2 separate regions of the Homo sapiens genome follow, and region 2 is linked to region 1. Evidence: promoter capture Hi-C in human tissues and cell types (Jung and others, 2019). All regions are on one chromosome and are shown on one strand. The core of a region is centred on a gene start or on the middle of the fragment in contact, and the rest is flanking DNA. Distances in the headings are between cores, read along the strand shown. Region 1 holds the start of SLC25A33 (solute carrier family 25 member 33). Region 2 overlaps SLC25A33 (solute carrier family 25 member 33).

Region 1 (3,825 bases), core at 335-2,834:
AAGATCGCACCACTGCACTCCAGCCTGGGCGACAGAGGAAGACTCCCTCTCAAAAAAAAAAAGGAAGTCTCAATGGAGACATGGAGGGAAGGGTTGCAAGGGAATGAATGACAGGGAAGAGATGAATGAGAAACTCTTCCAATCTATGAAGACCCACCGAAGTTTTTGGTTAAAGTAACCTGGTGACTGCCCACAATACAAGTACAAAAAAAGCTCAGGGACGCTTTCATCAGTCATCTTCCAAGATAAGTTTCTCAACCATTGTTTGTTGTAAGGAACATATCCAGGTAGGAATCCAGGCTGCAACTACTCAAGCCAAGATGATCATCCCAGAATAAACTATTTTATGCAAAATATCCTACACTCAAAAATTCCTGTGCCAGGCCGATGAGGTCCTCAAATTAATACTCCAAATATCTGTAAGACTCCGAAAGGACCCCAAGCCACCGGCTGTGATAAAGGAAAAAAGAAAATTACTAATACTCAAAAATATTTTACCTTCTATTCTCGGCGGGAGGTGACAAGGGGAGGTGGCGAGGGGTACCATCTCCCTTCCTAACCGCAGAACTCAACCTCCTAAAAATGCATTGTCTCCGCTGGAAAAAAGGTGCCTGACCATAGACCTAATGCAGCTTTCAAAACAAGGAACACCTTACAATTCTGCGGTCTCTGGCGTTGGAAGCGTCTACCAGCCGGCGAGAAGTGTCTCAACACACCTTCCAGACCTCATATGAGTTCGGGTCCCTGGCTTAGCCACCCCGCGTGTGGCCGCAAGCATCACCGTTCACCAGCACCACCCAGGCCTTGCTGACGTCCAACGTCCGCAGACCTTTTTGCCCGTCCGGATGACCTCCCGCGCTGCCCTGAGGAACCTCGGGCACACCCGAGCATCAGCGATCCTACCACGGGCTCTGAGGCGCTGCGCTTCGGGAGAGGCCCCAGGAGAAGGGGGCGGGGGAGGGGGGGCCGCGCCACAGCGTCCAGGCTGGACCGCCGCCGAGCACCACTCACCGGCCACTGACTCTTCAGAATGGGGAAAAGCTGGGGACGCCGCGGGGAGGACGGGCGGCGGGGCACAGCCGCCCTCGGGGCTGCGGTCAGGACGTAGGGGTGAGGAAGGCCCGACCCCCTCCCTCGGCCCTGCCCACCAGTCCCCGACGCCGGGACTTCCTCCTCCCGAGCGCCGGCGCCGTAGCCCGGGGAAGGCCGGTAACCGCCGCGGGAGGCTGGGGCCGCGCCCGGGGCGAAGGCCGAGGGGACCGCAGGCGGTGGGGCGCGCGCGGCTGGGCCCGGGAACTCACCCGCCGGCGAAGAGGTGAAGCAGCGTGTTCTCCTTCTGCTGGCCGCCCGTCGCCATGGCCGCGCCGGCTCCGCGGCCCGTCGCCGCCCGGTGGCGAGAGCGCGTGGCGGCTCGAGGGATGCGCGAGGTCGCCGGGTCTTGTCTCCCCGCTGCCCTCAGGGGGCTGCCGGCAACGCCTCCATGCGCGCGCGGGCTCCAACGCCCGGCTCTGCTCGGCCCGCGCCTTCCGCGGCGTGGCCGCCGGCGCCTCACCGGCCTCTGCGGCGCGAGCCCGGCGGGGAGCTAGAGCCCGGCGCGCGGCCGTCACGTGGCGGGGGCCGGACCGTGACGTCACGGGCGCGCGAGTCTGGGGCGGGGCGTGACGGGGGTGTGGACCCAAATTTCGAGCGCTCATTGGTTAGGACGCGGATGTGGGCGGGGAGGTTGCGCAGTTCTGGGGCGGAGCCAGCCCCGAGCGAATGACTGGGGAGAGGGGCTGGCCTAGGCCGGAGCGTGGAGGCAGTGGAAACTGGCTGTGACTGACTGGTCCTCGCTCCTCAGAGAAGCCTCGCGAGGCCCTAGGCCTTGCCTTATTTTAAAAGTTTACTTTGTGATATTTACGTGTGCAAAAGGTGTACAAATTACGTGTTACATCTCACACCTCTGTACTCACCACCCCGTTTAGGGAAACAAAAACATAATCTAAAAATCTATAATCTAAACAGCCTTAGATAATCAGTGAGGCCCTCACGGTGGCTCACGCCTGCAATCTCAACACTTTGGGAGGCCGAGGCGGGCGGGCGGATCGCCTGAAGCCAGGAGTTACAGACCAACCTGTCCAAGACGGCGAAACCGTGTCTCTACTAGAAATACAAAAGTTAGCCGGACGAGGCGGCGCACCCCTGTCATCCCAGCTACTTGGGTGGCTGAGGCTGGATAATCGCTTGAGCCCGGGAGGCGGGGGCTGCAGTGAGCCAAGATCTTGCCACTGCACTCCAGCCTGGACGACAAAGCGAGACTCTGTCTCAAATAATTAATAATCATTATCATTATGTGGATTTTTGATCTCCCTATAAGTAGTAGTATATGCTGCGTATATTTTGCAGTATGCTTTTTGCTTCTTTTCTGATCATCTCCAGCCCAGACCTAGATATCCAAACTGCTTCTCTCAGCCTATGTCACTGGGTCATTGTCATACTCAACCTGACATCTTCTAATCTCCAGGTCTCCCCCAGATGGAGACTTTCCTGGCCGCCTTTGCAGCGCAGTCTGTCACACGACTATAGAACCAGGGCTTCTGCAGTTAGTTTGTTGATTTATTTAAGTTGTCCTTCCCATACAGGAATGTAAGCTTCAGGAGAGCAGGGACCTTATTTCTTTTGTTCACAGTTGTTCCTGACACAGTACCTGCCACCTAGTAATGCCCAAGGAGCTAATGAATAAAGGTCCCAAATTGAACTTATCATTCTTCCCCTCCCCCAAACCTGCTCTACCTCTATTTCCTGTCCTGGCAGTGACACCACTGACTGCACAGGCACCAGTGCCAGAAGCTTTCCTGTTACCTTGGACTATGTCTCTCTGTCTGTCTCTCTCTCAGCAGACCACCATTCACCTGCAGAACGTACCAACCCTTTCTCTTCCGTCTCTCAGAGCTCCGGAAAGCTGTACCTTGACCAGAACAAGCAGTTAGATGTCCTGTGTGTAAACATAGAGAGCTTAAGTAGGAGGGAATTGTGTGGAAACGTGGGAGCTAGCCAGCCAATCTGTATTTGATTGCTGGGACTCTTTAAATAAAAACAGCTCTTAGGAGCAGTCCTCCAAAATGCAAATACAGTGGTTACTATTAAAGCCATTGCTCCCAGGCCTAGGAGAAGGGGAAGCCATACTAGGGCATGAGATATCTGAGAAAAAGAAGTAAAGAAAACCCAGCACAGTGGCCCACTCCTGTCATCCCAGCACTTTGGGAGGCTGAGAAGAGTGGATGACTTGAGTCTAGTAGCTCAAGACCAGCCTGGATAACGTGGCAAAACCCTGTCTCTACAAAAGAAAAAAAAAAGTAAAAATAAATAATTTTTTATTTTTATTATATGTTTTTTTTAATTTTTATTTATTTATTTTGAGATGGAGTCTTGCTCTGTCACCCAGGCTGGAGTGCAGTGGCACGATCTCGTCTCACTGCAACCTCTGCCTCCCGGGTTCAAGCAATTCTCCTGCCTCAGCCTCCTGAGTAGCTGGGATTACAGGCATGCACCACCACACTGGGCTAATTTTTGTATTTTTAGTAGAGACAGGGTTTCACCATGTTGGTCAGGCTGGTCTCAAACTCCTGACCTCGTGATCCGCCCACCTCAGCCTCCCAGAGTGCTGGGGTTACAGGCGTGAGTCACCGCACCTGGCCTATTATTTTAAGAGGAGGCCTCATTCTGTCACCCAGGCTGGAGTGCAGTGGCACCATCTTGGCTCACTGCATACTCCACCTCCCAGATTCAAGCGATTGTCCTGCCTCAGCCTCCTGAGTAGCTGGGATTACAGACATATGCCACCAT
Region 2 (4,119 bases), core at 1,495-3,994, 36 kb before region 1:
AGACTGTTCCCGCTCCTTAGCGGCAGTGACCTTTCTAACACAAATCCAACCATGCAACTCCCGTGCTTAAAACCATCCAGAGGCCGGGTGCGGTGGCTCACACCTGTATTCCCAGCACTTTGGGAGGCTGAGGTGGGCAGATCACGAGGTCAGGAGATCGAGACCATCCTGGCTAACACGGTGAAACCCCGTCTCTACTAAAAAATACAAAAAATTAGCCGGGCATGGTGGCGGGCACTTCCCAGCTACTCGGGAGGCTGAGGCAGGAGAATGGCGTGCACCCGGGAGGCGGAGCTCGCAGTGAGCTGAGATGCACCACTGCACTCCAGCCTGGACAACAGAGTAAGACTCTGTCTCAAAACAAAACAAAACATCCAGAGTTTCTCACCCTTGGCGCTATTCACATTTGGGGCTAAACTATTCAGTTTGGGGAGAAGCAGGCTGTCATGTGCCTTGTAGGGTTTAGCAGCATCCCGGCCTCTATTCACACTAGGCACCAAAAACACTCACCTAAGTTGTGGCAACTTCAAATGTCTCCAAACTTAAATGCTGAATGTCCCCTGGAGGGCACCCCCTACCTCCATCCTCCATTTCCCCTGAGGACCACTGCTCTGATGACTTTCCACTGCCCTCAAAGCCCAACTCCAAACTCCCTTTCAGGCCTGGGAAGGATCGGGCTCCCCTGCTCCTCCAGCCTTATTCTTCCATAACTCCCTTCTCCAGCGCAGATGCACGTACTACACGCCAACTACACTCCCTGTCTTACGGCTCCCCAGAACTAACCATGCTTTCTTTTCTTTTTTCCTTTTTTCATTTTTTTGAGATGGAGTCTTACTCACTCTGTCCCCTAGGGTGGAGTGCAATGGTGCAATCTCAGCTGCAACCTCAACTTCTGGGTTCAAGCAATTCTCCTGCTTCAGCCTCCCTGGGATTACAGGCTCCCGGGTTCACGCCATTCTCCTGCCTCAGCCTCCCGAGGCATGACACCACACCCGGCTAATTTTTGTAGGACAGGGTTTCACCATGTTGGCCAGGCTGGTCTCGAAATCCTGAGCTCAAGTGATCCGCACACCTCGGCCTCCCAAAGTACTGGGATTACAGGTGTGAGGCACCGAGTCCAGCCTAACCATGCTTTCTTGACTCAAGATTTCTACACTCACCTTCTCTCTGCCCAAAAGACTCTTCTCTGCCGCCCCCACCTGGCTATTCTTTTCTTCCCAAATCAATGTCTTTTATGGCATCATTTAAATATCACCAATAGGTCTTAGGAATCATCCAGCATGTTGTTTCTGTAGCGGGACAACTCTTAGATCTTATTCATCAGCCTGCTGAACAGTTCCTTTTTCAGAGACATAGATACCATCCCCAAACTTCCTGATATCCTTAACTGTTGTGGCTTGCTGAATCAAGGCAACTGAATTTGAAACAAGCTCGATGTCATTTCCTTCAAGGATTAAATTCATCTTTCTAGGCTTGAGATACTGAACAAGCAACACCTGGTCTCATCTGAACCCTGCGGGTGTATTTTTCATCCAAGAAATTTCGGATTTCAACAAGAGACCCATCCTCCTGGATAACAATGTCGGTGGGGAAGTGAGCATACGCAGACCTCATCTTGTAACAGAAGCCCAGTGTAACACCCTTGATCGTGTTCTGCACATAACTACCAACAGTTCGAACGGTAGCCAGTTCCTTTCTGTTACCCCACCGTGTGGCACTCCAGAGCCTCTTTAGACTGAGTTCTACATTGATGTGACTGAAGTCCCTCTGCATGGTTCCTCTGGGGCCATTCACAGTAACTGTGCATCTCTTCAGGGTAATGTTGACATTTTCTGGAATGACAACAGTCTGATTGCTGTGAATGGTCTTCATTTTCACAGTAGACACGGCAAAGCCCACCTGGCTATTCTTAAGATGGGAGTTGGGTGCTGCTGCCTCTGAAGGCCCTCCCAACCTTCTCTCTCTTAACCCAACCTGTACTGGGTGACTCTTGAAGGTCTAGTGGCACCCTCAGCAACCTTATCCCACCAAACTTTAATTATCTTATCTGTGAAGCTGTAAGTTCCTAGAAGCTAGGTCTTAATTCCCTGCTGTTTCCCTAGTGACTAGTGCAAGCAACAAATATTCACTGCTGAGAGACAAATATTAACAGAGCTCACCCAAAGTTCTAAAGTATTCTTGAGCACCATCATTAGGCAGAATGACAAGAATACATATACAGGCTCTCAGCTGATGGACGCATTTATCCCTTGCTAAACAGAAGTGATATGAGTTTACTATGGGACACTTGGAATTAGGAGGAATTACCAAAGGCTTCCACAACAGGTGACAGCATGACCAGGAAGGGGAAGGGGGAATCTCTGGTGAGGGACAGCATATGTGGGGAGACAGAGCAATAAAAGCACATGACATTTTTGGAAAACTACAGGACTGCTGAATTAGGAATTTACCCTGAGAGGAACAGATTCATCAAAAGAGTCTGAACAAGTGGTCTGTTCAAATGATTATACCTGATGCATGTTAGAAGGCTCTTTTGGGCAGAATAGATTGATTGGGCGAACTTGGAGTCAAGTGACTCATGCAGAGGTTATCATGGTCATTAGGAAGAAAAATGAACTGGGGCCCCTACCTACCCTTCCTGGGGTACTCCCTGCCTCCTTTCGTTTTGCTTTCGTTTTTTTTTCCAGACAGAGTCTTACTCTATCACCCATGCTGAAGTGCAGTGGTGTGATCTCGGCTCACTGCAACCTCCACCTCCCGGGTTCAAGTGATTCTCCTGCCTCACTCTACTAAGTAGCTAGGATTACAGGCGCCCACCACCACGCCTGGCTAATTTTTGTATTTTTAGTAGAGACGGGGTTTCACCATGTTGGCCAGGCTGGTCTCGAACTCCTGAGTTTGTGACCCACCCGCCTCGGCCTCCCAAAGTGCTGGGATTACAGGCATGAGCCACTACGCCCAGCTCTGCCTCCTTTCTTTAGAGGCAGCTGAAAATCAGAGTGGACTGGCTGGAAGTTTCCAGTGCATACATTTCCAGGCAACACAGTAATACAGGGGTTCTTATTTTTTTTTTTTTTTTTTTTTTTGAGCCAGAGTCTCGCTCTGTCACCCAGGCTGGAGTGCAGTGGCACGATCTTGGCGCACTGCAAGCTCCACCTCCCGGGTTAACGCCATTCTCCTGCCTCAGTCTCCCAAGTAGCTGGGACTACAGGCGCCCACCATCACGCCCGGCTTATTTTTTGTATTTTTAGTAGAGACAGGGTTTCACCGTGTTAGCCAGGTTGGTCTCGATCTCCTGACCTCGTGATCTGCCCGCCTCAGCCTCTCAAAGTGCTGGGATTACAGGTGTGAGCCACCGCACCCGGCCTACAGGGGTTCTTAATAGAATGCTGGTAGTTCCTTCACTTGGACTGGGGAGAAAATGCATCTTTAACCCTAATCCCTAACCGAAATCCAATAGTTGAAGTTGTTAACTATTGGAGTTTAGGGCTAAGCATAGTGGGGTATCTAATCCCAATTTGGGTCTTAGCTATTGTGTCTTCAGAAGTATTAAAGCCACCTTCATAGTTTATTTTATTTCAGCTAGGGTTTTTTACAACTTAGATGAAGCTTAGCTTTATTAAGTCTAAAACACTCTTTACACCGGGTTCCATTAGCTTGGGTTAATTGTATTCATTACGAATGTAAATACACAGGCCACAGTAGTAGCAGCAGTAGTAACTGTGATTTGACACACACAGAAATATTTTCATGTCACATTACATTTGTTGAAAACATCACAGGACACTGTTTATCATTTCTTAGAAATTATAGTAGTTACTGGACTACTGCCATATCTTATTAATTTAATGTGTTAAAGAGGCATACTACTGTATCACTGACAAGTGTATTTTTAAAAACCTTATTAAGGCCTGGTGTGGTGGTTCACGCCTGTAATACCAGCACTTTGGGAAGCCAAGGCAGGAGGACTGCTTGAGCCCAGGAGTTGAGACCAGCCTGGGCAACATGGCAAGATCCATCTCTACAAGAAAAACAAAATTAGCTGGGTGTGGTGGCATGCACCTGTGGTCTCAAACTACTGAGGAGGTGAGGCTGAGGCAGGAGGATTGCTTGAGCCTG

The links. The method cuts DNA at HindIII sites, captures the fragments that hold promoters and counts their contacts. A contact is called where the count stands out against the background at its distance.
Region 2: a fragment that was not itself captured here is called in contact with the fragment with the promoter of SLC25A33 in region 1 in 1 of the 25 tissues and cell types used here (liver).

The regions. Positions count from the first base shown.
Region 1 is chr1:9,537,224-9,541,048 of GRCh38, reverse strand. SLC25A33 (solute carrier family 25 member 33) reads right to left here and starts at 1,584. Exons shown (of 7, transcript NM_032315.3): 1 at 1,302-1,584. The coding sequence starts at 1,357. RefSeq lists enhancers at 729-858, 1,525-1,819 and silencers at 929-1,288, 1,309-1,828. The HindIII fragment of the contact is 17,899 bases long and covers 1-3,825 here.
Region 2 is chr1:9,574,180-9,578,298 of GRCh38, reverse strand. All of the region lies in intron 5 of SLC25A33 (solute carrier family 25 member 33), which reads right to left. It also overlaps the pseudogene RPL9P11. Among named protein-coding and RNA genes, the nearest start is that of TMEM201, 13 kb to the left of the region's middle. The HindIII fragment of the contact is 3,228 bases long and covers 1,131-4,119 here.